3 separate regions of the Homo sapiens genome follow, and all the other regions are linked to region 2. Evidence: promoter capture Hi-C in 16 types of primary human blood cells and fetal thymus (Javierre and others, 2016). All regions are on one chromosome and are shown on one strand. The core of a region is centred on a gene start or on the middle of the fragment in contact, and the rest is flanking DNA. Distances in the headings are between cores, read along the strand shown. Region 1 overlaps ONECUT3 (one cut homeobox 3). Region 2 holds the start of C19orf25 (chromosome 19 open reading frame 25). Region 3 overlaps REXO1 (RNA exonuclease 1 homolog).

Region 1 (4,070 bases), core at 1,056-3,555, 300 kb after region 2:
CTGGCTTGTTCTGTTTCTTGTTTTCTGGAGTCATGTCTTATAAGAGTATTTATTATTCTCTGTGTTCTGTGTTCAAATGTAATTTAAGAAAAAAAAAGGAAGAAAAATGCAAAAAAAAAAGACAAAATGGAATTTGAGTTGGTGCATGACTAATGTACTCTTTCTTGACGCTAATTGTAATAAAGTGGTCAGGGTGGGGGGCGGGGGGCGTGGCCCGGTTCCGTGTCGCATCTGTGTGTCTGGTGCCTGATCGGTGCTGTTCAGTGGTTTTTCGTTACTGTTTCTTTCCTCCTTTCTAAGGAACTGTGTCCAGCCGGGACAGGTGGACGGGGCCCCAGGTAGAGGGGGCGGGAACAGAGCCTCAGTAGCCGGGTCTCCTCCACCTGCCTGTCCATCTCCACCCGAGATGCCACCTGCCTGCCCCAGCCAGGCGGGAGCCACCGAGCGTCCCCCCCTCAGTTCCTGGTTCTTGGGGGCACTCTGGTGTCATCGATATCTTAGACCCCCCCAACCCCCCATCACCCGGTTGCTTTCACTCTAGCATGAATTCCCAAGTGTCTTGTTCAGAGGAGACAGACAATCAGCCTATTCTTGTCTTGTTGCCCAGGGTGGTGGGGGACGGGAGTGTGCCCCAACTTCCTGAGATCTGAAGGACCCTCCTGAGGGCCCCAACAGCAGGCACCAGCACCCCCTCCCCCCCCACCTCCACCCAGACAGCCTCGGCCTCCCTCCCTGGGCTGGGCATGAGTCCGCCTTTCTGTCCAGCCCGGGAGGCAGGGGGTGTACGCCTGCAGAGACCCCTCCCTCCCAGCCCACTTTCGGAGCCTACAGAACAGAGGACTCCCCAAAATCATCAAAGGGGGCTCTGGGACAATGTCCTCTGCCTCTGACTCCTCTTGTGCCATGAGGCCACGTCCCTGAGCCATCCCCAGATAGTCCCTGGAGGTGGAAAGGGGCACAGATGTGCCAGCTTGGGAACAGAGGCTGGAGGAGAGGGCGGCAGGGGAGAGATGAGAGGGGCCGCTTTTGGGACAGGCCCCAGTAGGGGGGGGCGGGGTAGCTAAACGGGGTGCTTCTCACCCCATAAAGCAGCAAGCCCTGGTCTGGAGGGCTGGGCCTGGGGCTGAGGGCTCAGCTGACCTCAAATCTGAAATGATGCCGGGGCCAGGATGCTCCTTGCACCAGCAGGAGCTTGGGCCATTTCACATTCTCTGCCCCAAGCGGTTTAAGCAAAATCAGGCCAGTAGACTCCTGGGGCTCCTCCTCGTGGCCCTGTCAGACCACGCAGGGGCTGGTTTTGGTGGAATGAGCTCAGCCGGGGGTGACGGAAGAGCCAGGAGGCCCTGCGGCCTTGAGTGTTTTGAATAGACTGGAACTGAGGGCTGCTTTCAGGGGAGACACCACTTGGACCCTCCAAAGTCCCCTCCCCTCCAGGGACAGGGGAGAGAAGCCCTTTTCCACCTTCACCCTTGGGCGACAGGCTTAAAAGCTAAAAAAAAAAAAAAATCTCGTCATTGTTAACCATTGCTGTGCTGGGTTTGTTGATTTGTTTTTCTTCAATAAATTATTTTCTAGTCACTCACCTGGGCGTGTGTGTTAGCTGACGGGTCGGGCACAGATAGGGGGCGGGAATGGAACTCGCCCACCTCGAGGCTGGGGAGGGAGGACCGGAGTGCAGGGAAGACGGACTTTGCTTCCACCCAGCTCGCCCCTCTCTGCTCTGAGTCCCGTCTTCTTCCTGGGCCAGTGGCCAGCTCTGAGCCTCCACAATCCACACAACTCCACCACCCACACAAGTCCACCACCCACAGGGAATGGTAAGAATCAGAAAGAGGCCAGGCGCGGTGGCTCACACCTGTAATCCCAGCACTTTGGGAGGCCAAGGCAGGCGGATCACGAGGTCAGGAGATCAAGACCATCCTGGCTAACACGGTGAAACCCCGTCTCTACTAAAAAATACAAAAAATTAGCCAGGCATGGTGGTGGGCGCCTGTATTCCCAGCTACTCAGGAGGCTGAGGCAGGAGAATGCTGTGAACCCGGAAGGTGGAGCTTGCAGTGAGCCGAGATCGCGCCACTGCACTCCAGCCTGGGCGACAGAGTGAGACTCCGTCTCAAAAAAAAAAAAAAAAAAAGAATCAGAAAGAAAAGCTTGGCGCCTTAGAAGGAAAAGCTTGGCGCCTTTGAGTCAACCAAGCCCCAAGATGCACACCTTGTCAGGACCTGCTTCTGTGACATCACTGCTCATTGCTTTCTGGAGTCTAAAGTGAACGGAGGCCCCAGTGAATGAAGGTGTATTTGAATGGGAGAAACCAGGGCTTCCCGATAGAGGAAGAAGCTAGATGGTACAAGAACTGGAATTTATAAACTTTCTTGGGAGGGGCCAGCTGTCAGGCAGCGGGGGAGCCACAGCTTTTAATAAGCAACTTTTGAGAGCAATGAAGCTTTACCCACATTATCTTACCCCAGCATGAAGAAGGAAAGTTTTCCCTGCAAATACCCGGCTGGACCACTAGAGGTCAGTGTTTTGATTTTAAAAACCGGGAAGGAATATTCCATCACAAAAAAAGTGTAGGGAAAGAGGGAGCCTGAATTAGCGCTGGGGTCAGATGGACCCTGGTTTATTAGAAAAAGAAAAGCATGTGGAGTCCTTGTCTTTAGAGGAAGGCCCCCTGCATGCTGGTTGACTTGCAGCAGAACTGGCTGGAGCTTCTTCTTCCCAGGAAGGACATCTTCCTGATATGCCAGCGTGACTCCTTTGGGCTCGAAGATGCCTCTTCATCAGATGGGTCTAGGGATTCAGATGCTACGTCACTGCTGAACCCTGGTCCCCTCCGCAGAGGGCAATGACTGCTCCTCTGGGGGCAAGGATAGCTGCTCCTCCCCGGGCACCAGCAGCCACTCCATGGATGATGATGACTGCTTCTCCGCGGGCCACAGCTCCACCTCCATAGGCTGCTCGCTCGTGGACGTGGACGATTCTTCCAGACTTGGTGGCAGAGTCTCCACCTGAGATTTGTGGGTCTTGTCTGGAAGTGGCACCGTCCCCTCCTTGGGGGTGTGAGGCTCCTTTTGCCAGCTCTTCCGGAACGGTGTGGAGGGCTTCAAAAATGCTGACTTCTCCTCCGAGGAGTCTGGCTGGCTCTCCAACGTCAGCTGGCCTGAAAGAAATGACTGGCTCCCCAGAGGCTGTGGCTGGCTCTCAAATGACGACAGCTGGCTTTCTCTGTGCAACAGTGATTTCTCCTGAAAAGAATGTGACCTCTCCTTGGTCAACAGCAACTTCTCAGGAGAAGGTGGCCTCTGCTTGGGTGACAATGACCTCTCCTGTGCCCTTGGCAATTGCTCTTGGAAAGACTCAGATAGCCTGTTGCTGCTGGTGAGCACATATTTGGGGAGGGCAGGTTGGTTTTCTGGATGAAGAGCGGATTGTCTATCCATAGAAAATGATGAGCTAGGTGTAGGGGGGAGCTGTACTTCCTGGGAGGACACCTGCCCCTGTGGCTGGTGCTTCTTCTTCCCCAGGAAGGACATCTTCCTGAGGTGTCACTGTGACTCTTTTGGGCTCGAAGCTGCCTCTTCATCAGATGGGTCTAGGGATTCAGATGCTATGTCACTGCTGACCCCTGGTCCCCTCCGCAGAATTGTGCCCTGAGTGATGAGGTTTGCATATCCCTCACGGTGGGAGAAAGCATAGCTGGAACGGCGGGCACGAGACTCCCGGTGTACATGAGGCAAGGGCTCCATGGTGAAAATCTCCTCGCTGGGGCCCTCCTCCACCTTCTCCTCCTGAAGAGCAAAGGGGAGAGCAGGGGAAGCAGACTCCTATGCTTGGCTGATGGCTCTCAGGTCCCCCAAGTAGGAGAGGCAGGATTCAAAGCCCTTGGCCACTATTGATTGGCTACGTTCTTCCCTACCCAAGTTGAGCCAATTAGAGTCCTCGACTCTCAGTGTTGAGTTCTAAGGAGGACTCTAGTCCTTTGCTTTTCAAGACCCACTAATTGGCCTTGCCCTGGAAACTAACCCTGGATCAGCCAATCAGAGTTATTCCCTGGGACTTAACTCGGGACC
Region 2 (3,818 bases), core at 177-2,676:
TGGGGGGCCCTAGCTTACCACCTCTGTTTTACTTTATTTATTTCTATTTATTAATTATTATTATAATTATTGAAACAGAGTCTCACTGTGGTCCAGGCTGGAGTGCAGTTGCGTGATCTCAGCTCACTGCAACCTCCGACTCCCAGGTTCAAGTGATTCTCCTGCCTCAGTCTCCTGAGTGGCTGGGATTACAGGCCCATGCCACCACACCCGGCTAATTTTTGTATTTTTAGTAGAGACAAGGTTCCACCATGTTGGCCAGGCTGGTGTCCAACCTCTGACCTCAAGTGATCCACCCACCTCGGCCTCCCAAAGTGCTGGGATTATAGGCGTGAGCCACCGCACCGGCCACTTATTTATTTTTGAGACACAGTCTGGCTGTGTTGCCTAGGCTGTATCCTCCCACTTTAGCCTCCAAGAAGCTGGGGCTACAAGTGTCCACCACCACACCCAGTAATTTTTTTTTTTTTTTGAGACAGTCTCGCACTGTCACCTGGGCTGGAGTGCAGTGGTGCGATCTCGGCTCACTGCAAACTCTGCATCCCGGGTTCAAGCGATTCTCCTGCCTCAGCCTCCCGAGTAGCTGAGATTACAGGCGCCTGCCACTATGCCCAGCTAACTCTGTTTTGTTTTTGTTTTTGTTTTTGTTTTGTTTTTTCATTTTTAGCAGAGACGGGGTTTCACCATGTTGGCCAGGCTGGTCTCGAACTCCTGGGCTCAAGCGATCCTCCCGCCTCATCCTCCGAAAGTGCTGGGCTTACAGGCCTGAACCACAGCGCCCGGCCTCCACCCCTGTCAGAAGAACCCTCTGAAAATCGGTCCCACTCTACGGAGGAGTAGAGGGAGACTCGGAGAGGATACGGACCGTGCCCATGTTGCGGGGGTTCCCAGGGCGTGGGGTCAGGAGTTAGGGGTGTGCTTCTCTCCCGTCCCCTTGCTGCCGGGGTCTCAGGTCCGCTTTTCCCCGGGACCGGGCTCCCCCTACCTTCCGGGGCCAGGATGGTGAACACTGGATCCTCTGCCGGCGCACCCCGCACATCCTCCAGGATCTGCTCCACCGTGGGGGGCGCTGGGCGGGTGGGCAGCAGCACGCGCTTCTTTGCCTTGGAGCCCATCTCTGAAGGCGGGGAAGGGGGCGCTGACCGGGGCGTCCACCTCTCCGCCCTTGCCCGGGCTGCTCCTCCCGCCCAGCGAACTCGTACGCACCCGTCGCGGTCCCGCTCCCGGGGAAGCCCGCCCTGTCCCGCCCCTCTGAGCTCGCCCCAGGCCCTGACCCTCCCTCCGCCCAAAAACACGGTGGCCAAGGCTTCAGGGTCTGGCTCAACCTCTGCCTCAGTTTCCCCGCGGTCACCCCAGTCGCCGGCCTCTTCCCACCTGGGCGCGGGACCCGAAAGCCCAGCGTCGACGACGCAGCCACTTCCGATTCCGGTCGGAGCACCGCCCCGTCCCCGAACACGTGACACACACTTCCGGCCTCCTCTCCCGCCGGCCCGCCGCTCATCGCGGGGCTCCGCCCCGTCTTAAAGGGATAGTGCCCTTGAGACTCGGATCTCAGCCTCTCAGGCGAACCCGAACCTGGACGCGCTACGATGAGAGCGAGTTCGAGTCCAGGCTCCACTGGCTGGGTAGAAAAGCATCCGAGGCTCGTCTTTCTGAAAAGGGGAACACGGCACTAGGGGACACGCCACCCATGTGGCTGACGGGAGCACAAAATTGCTGTCCACCTAAGGGAGCCTGGTGGTGCATGAGCACTCGGCGGCCGGAACACAGCGGGGGCGGGGCGGTCGCGGCGCCTCCACTTCCGGCCAAGGCGGGTCCTCCCACCTCGGGGACGGTGCTGGAGGTCACCTTTTCCTCTCCGCTGATGCCTGGGAAGGCAGAAAGAGCAGAGGGCCCTTTTCCTCTCTCAGGGGCTTTATTGAGATGCAGTTTACATACCATAAAGTTCTCCTGTTTATTTCGTTTTGTTTTGTTTTTTTAGAGACAGAGTCTCACTGTGTCGCCCAGGCCGGAGTGCAGTGGCGTGATCTCAGCTCACTGCAACCTCCGCCTCCCGAGTTCAAGCAATTCTCCTGCCTCAGCCTCCCGAGTAGCTGGGACTACAGGCGCCCGCCACCACGTCCGTCAAAATTTTTTTTTGTATTTTAGTAGAGATGGGGCTTCACTGTGTTGCCCAGGCTGGTGTCAAACTCCTGAGCTCAGGCAATCCGCCCGCCTCAGCCTCCCAAAGTGCTGGGATTACGGGCGTGAGCCACCGCGCCCGGCCAAATTCGCCTGTTTAAACTGTAAATTCAGCCTGGGCGCGGTGGCTCATGCCTGTAATCCCAGCACTTTGGGAGGCCGAGGCGGGCAGATCACTTGAGGCCAGTTTGAGACCAGCCTGGCCAACATGGTGAGACCCCGTCTCTACTAAAAATACAAAAATTAGGCTGGGTGTGTTGGCTCACGCCTGTAATCCCAGCGCTTTGGGAGGCCGAGGTGGGTGGATCACGAGGTCAGGAGATCAAGACCATCCTGGCTAACATGGTGAAACCCTGTCTCTACTAAAAATACAAAAAGAAAAACAAAATTAACCAGGCATGGTGGCGGTTGCCTGTAGTCCCAGCTACTCAGGAGGCTGGGGCAGGAGAATGGCATGAACCCGAGAGGCAGAGCTTGCAGTGAGCCGAGATCGTGCCACTGCACTCCAGCCTGGGCGACAGAGCAAGACTCTGTCTCAAAAAAAAAAATATTGTTGAGAGAGAAGGAAGGAAGGAAGGGACAGAGAGAGGGAAAAGGAAAGAAAGAGAAAGAAAGGAAAGAAGGAAGGAGAAGAAAAAGGAAGGAAGGAGAGAGAGAAAGAAAAAAAAGAAAAAGGAAATAAAGAGAAGAAAGTAAAGAAGAAAAGGGAGAAAAGAAAGGAAAGGAAGGAAAGAGAAGGAAGAACGGAAGAAAGGAAGGCGAGAGAGAAAGAAAAAGAAAAGAAAGAGGAAGAAAGAAAAAGGAAAGAGAAAGAAGGAAAGAAAGAAAGAAAAGGAAAGGAAGGAAGGGGCCAGGTGCGGTGGCTCAAGCCTGTAATCCCAGCACTTTGGGAGGCCGAGGTGGGCGAATCACGAGGTCAGGAGATCGAGACCATCCTGGCCAACATGGTGAAACCCATCTCTACTAAAAAAGGAAGGAAAGAGAAGGAAGAAAGGAAGGAAAGAAGGAAGGAAGTAAAGAAAAGGAAGGAAGGGAGGGAGGGAGGAAAGGGCCAGGCACAGTGGCTCACGCCTGTAATCCCAGCACTTTGGGAGGCCAAGGAGGGAAGATTGCTTGAGGCCAGGGTTCAAGGCTGCAGTGAGCTACAATCGCACCACTGTACTCTAGCCTAGTCAACGTAGGGAGACCCTGTCTCAAAACAAACAAGAAAAAAAACAAAGGAATCACCGCAGGAGAGGATTCTGGGCCATGGTGAGCCATGTTCTGGGGCTGGACATTACTGCTGACCCCCGGCCATTCCCTGCTGTTCCCACTGCCTGGGGTCCCTGGGCCTGGGCGGACTCTTTCTCCGTGGCCGGCTGCATTCTCCATGGACTGATGTCCGGGGACCCCAAGCAGAAACCACCTGAGCCCTGGGGCCTCGGGCCCACCCTGCTCCAGAGGAGGCCACAGACTGAGCACCTTCTAAGCAACCTTTATTTGCAAACTCTGAGGTTGGACGCGGTGCCCGAGGCGGACAGTGTCACGTTTCTCTCCCTCCACTTTCCCCTGGCTTTTGGGGTGCTCCAGCCTCTCCCCCCAGCCCACTCCCGCCCAAACCCAAAATGCAGAGGAGACTTCTCTCTCTCTCTCTCCCG
Region 3 (3,789 bases), core at 919-3,418, 370 kb after region 2:
TTCAACCCCCCGCCCGGAGGGTCCCAGCTCCCCAGGGCCCAGAGCCGCAGCTGGACTCGCAGGCTCGCCGGCGAGGGCTGAAAAAGAAACGGCCTCAGCACCACCGCTGGTTGTCACCACTGGGGTCAGGGAAGCCCAGGGACGCTGCTCAACATCCTACAACGCAAAGGACAGCCCACCAGACGACAATCTGGCCCCCAGTGTCCCTAGCACCAACCGTCCCTCCAGCAAGCTCCATAGCTGCCACTCCAGGCCAGGCAGGCAGGCGGCCCCGGTGGCCCGATTGCCCACCTGCCACCCGCTGGTAAAATCACCCCCGGGTCCTCATACGCCCTGGTCAGGCCTGGGGAACCAAAAGACAATACTGCTGGCTGCGGGGGTTCTCCCCTAGAGTCCATTCCTTCCTGGACGCGGCTCACTGAGGATGAAAAGTCGGACCGAGGAGAGCACACACTGTCACGTCTCTGAAGGTGACACAGGTGGTCAGACGGTGCCTTCACTGCCCCACGGAAAGCCGGCTGTCTCCCATCCACCAGGAGGAGGCAGCACAGGACGCAGCCAGCGGGAGCTCCTGACCCTCCTGAGAGGCCAGAGGAAATGAAGGCAAGCCATCCTCTGCAGCGAGGCGCCATTCTTGGCCTCCTTCTCCCTTCTCGCCTGACTCGGGGCCTCAGAGTTTCCGAGGAGAGCTGGCAAGCCCTAACAGATCAGTAGGATCCCAGGGCTCACCTGCCTAGCAGGGGTATGGGAGGCTGTCACCGACACCGGAGAGCCAGGCCTGCTTCAGGCCCATCCTTGGAAGGTTTCAAGTTCCCTTCTGTGCCCAGCCCACAGAGGCTGGCAGCAAAAACGGCAGAGGAGGCAGGCAGGGCCCCGGCCCACCCACATCCAACCCAGCACTGCCAGTTACCAGCCACGCGTACACAGGTGAGCAGCCTCCCGGCGCTGGGCCTCAGTTTCCTCATCTGTAAACTGGGAAGAGCCACTCCCACTGCTGTTTGGGGGTCACAGGCAGAGTCCGCCCAGTACTGCTGTGGTAGTGGCCAAGTCAAGAGGTAGGGACCCCAGAGCCCATGTGAGGGGCCACATCTGAAGAGCCAGAAGGAGGAGGACCCCTGCCTGACCCGACTCTGCTAGAAGGCTCAGGAGATACTGGGTACATGGTGGCTGGGCTTCAGGAGATATTGGGTACACGGTGGGTGGGCTTCAGTAGATACTGGGTACACAGTGGGTGGGCTTCAGGGCTCCCCATGTACCTGGGGCTGCTCCCTGAGCGCCTCTACCCCAGGACTCCTGCCCTCTACAGATGCAGTTCTGGAGAGTCGCCTGGAGCCCCAGCTGGGACGCCGCCAACAGCCCCACCCAGAACCACTGGCACCGGGCTGCCAGATCCTGAACCCGACTGCGGGATCCCCGAGGGCAGGAGCTGTGCGCCCCGCACACACGTCTGCCGCTCACTTTGCAGTATAGGATGGCCCCTTCCCCAGGCCTGGGACTGTCCTGCTGGGGCCTGAGTCAGCCTGTGGCGCAGCACTAGCATCCCCTCAACGTGGTGCCCTCAGCCTCTGCCTCCCTCAGGAGAAGCATCATCTGGGAGCACGTTCCTGCCGGAGCTGTGAAGCCCTGAGCTGGGGCCCACCGCACCTCTGGAGAGCCCTGGACTTTCCTGCAATCCTCCCCGGAAGGGTTCCCTCTCCTGGAAGACAGTGTCCTGCCTCTCAGTAGGACACAGACTCCCTGAGACACCACAGGGAGTGCGGGGCAGTGGGCAGAGGCCTGGGTTCTGAGGTCAGATGGGAGGAAGGTGGGATCTAGCCCTGCCCACTCCACATAGACAACCGAGGCCCCTCACCTACCACCAGGCTGCAGCCAAGGCCCAGGCAGCAGAGAGCGGCCACTGGGGGGATAGTAACGCTCATTCCCAACTCACAAGGCTGGGATAGAACGTGCCCCTCTAGGCCGGGGATGCACATCCCTGCGTCCCAGGGCTACACGGTGCCCGCCGTAAGGGCTGCTGGACCATCCCTCCAAGCCACCCTGGGCAGGTCCAGCCGGCTCTGAAATGGCTGTGCAGCCCAGCGCGGTGCTTCACGCCTGTCATCCCAGCACTTCAGGAGGCTGAGGAGAGAGGATCGCTTGAGTCCAGGAGCTCAAGACCAGCATGGGCAACAAAGTGAGACCCCGTCTCGGCAAAAATTTTAAACATTAGCGAGGTGTGATGTCACATGCCTGTGGTCTCAGCTAGTCAGGAGGCTGAGCCAGGTGGATCCCTTGAGTCCAGGAGGTCGAGGCTGCAGTAAGCTGTGATCGCACCACTGCACTCCAGCCTGGGTGATAAAGTGAGACCCTGTCTCAAAAATTAATTCATTAAATAAAATGGCTGAGCAGGTCCAGGGATAAGAGCCCAGAAGGAAACCTGAGTCCTTCAGCAGTGCTGCTCAAGGTCGCCAATGACCCGCTGAGCCTGTGACCCAGGGCCCAGGAGCACCAGCCACCTTCCTGTTCCCGTCGCAGCTCCGCCAAGCCTCCCAACCCTGCCTGCCTTGGTGCCCTCATCAGATGCCCTCTCCTTCTCCCAGAGGCCCTGGAGGCTCCAGCCCTGCCCTGGCCAGGTGGTAGTATGGGCAAAACACGTTCCTCGATAAGCCTCCGTTTCCCCACCGGCAGCAAATAGCTCACAGGGTCACCATGCAGCGCGTGTCCAGCACAGAGCATGGCCCCACAGGTGCTCCAGGGCTAGCTGAGGGCTTTTCACCTGAACCTCTGTCCACTCTCAATCCTGGGAGGCCAGCGTTCCTGTCTATCTCCTCTCTGGAGGCCGCTGCCCTGTGCACCCTAAAATCCCCTTGAGAAGACATGGCAAAGGCTAGATCACGCCAGCCTCTTCAAATCTCATAGGAAACTGGGTGTGTGTAAATCTGGAGGTGTGGACATGGGACATGCATCCCCCCCTGTCCTCAGAGGGCAGCCTGATGAACATGTCACGGAGGCGGAAACAGAGGGTCAGAGAAACCTCACCGCAAGGAAGATGGATCCTGCCTTCTGCGGGGGGAGGCAGTCTTCTACCAGACAGTAACAAGAAGCCCTACCACCCCACCAGAGATGGGAAAAGGAGTTCATTCTCACCAGCAAAAGGGAAATGCAGACACGCCATGGTAAGAGGCAGGCAGCTGCCTTTTTCCCATAGGAACGGGGGGCAGACAGGAAGACGACATCACCAAAGGGACCCTCAAAAATAAGCCTTTGGGAAACAAATGAGCCATTTGGGATGCAGACAGATATCATAAGCCTGACTTGCGCCGGGTGCAGTAGCTCACACCTGTAACCCCAGCACTTTGGGAGGCCGAAGCAGGAGGTCGGCTCGAGGCCAGGAGTTTTGAGACAAGCCTGGACAACATAGCGAGACCCTATCTCCACGAAAACATACAAAGTTAGCCAGGCTTGGTGGCACCCGCCGCCCATAGTCCCAGCTACTCAGGAGGTTCAGGCAGGAGGATCCCTTGAGCCCAGGAGGTCGAGGCCTCAAAGAGCTGTGATCGCACCACTGCACTCCAGCCTGGACTATAGAGTGAGACCCTGTCTCTAAAAATAGGGTTAAAATGAGCATCGTGAGTCTGGTGTCACAGCCTCCGAGAAGCCTCTCCCACGCGTTGCCTTCTTCACCAACTCCCAGCCCCCGCCAAAGCCGGCTGCGTGCTCCCAGGACATCACGACCTATGCTACGGGATCTGTAGGCACAGCTGTCGGCAGGTCCCTGAGAGCACAGCCGGCATCGTACGCAGCTCTGAA

The links. Contacts are between HindIII fragments. The CHiCAGO score rates a contact against its expected background, and 5 or more counts as called.
Region 1: a contact is called between a fragment that was not itself captured here and the fragment with the promoter of C19orf25 in region 2, in 4 of 17 cell types (M1 macrophages, M2 macrophages, total B cells and 1 more). The highest score is 7.9, in M1 macrophages.
Region 3: a fragment that was not itself captured here is called in contact with the fragment with the promoter of C19orf25 in region 2 in 1 of 17 cell types (naive CD4 T cells); the score reaches 6.4 in naive CD4 T cells.

What each region holds. Positions count from the first base shown.
Region 1 is chr19:1,779,483-1,783,552 of GRCh38, forward strand. ONECUT3 (one cut homeobox 3) reads left to right here. Exons shown (of 2, transcript NM_001080488.2): 2 at 1-1,506. It overlaps ATP8B3 (ATPase phospholipid transporting 8B3), which reads right to left. Exons shown (of 29, transcript NM_138813.4): 29 at 2,593-3,788. The coding sequence ends at 3,546. Among named protein-coding and RNA genes, the nearest start is that of ONECUT3, 28 kb to the left of the region's middle. The HindIII fragment of the contact is 271 bases long and covers 2,171-2,441 here.
Region 2 is chr19:1,477,789-1,481,606 of GRCh38, forward strand. C19orf25 (chromosome 19 open reading frame 25) reads right to left here and starts at 1,427. Exons shown (of 3, transcript NM_152482.3): 1 at 1,375-1,427; 2 at 986-1,117. The coding sequence starts at 1,115. It overlaps PCSK4 (proprotein convertase subtilisin/kexin type 4), which reads right to left. Exons shown (of 15, transcript NM_017573.5): 15 at 3,640-3,818. RefSeq lists enhancers at 612-1,112, 1,474-1,593 and a silencer at 1,204-1,253. The HindIII fragment of the contact is 20,570 bases long and covers 1-3,818 here.
Region 3 is chr19:1,843,310-1,847,098 of GRCh38, forward strand. All of the region lies in intron 1 of REXO1 (RNA exonuclease 1 homolog), which reads right to left. Among named protein-coding and RNA genes, the nearest start is that of REXO1, 3.3 kb to the right of the region's middle. The HindIII fragment of the contact is 4,342 bases long and covers 1-3,789 here.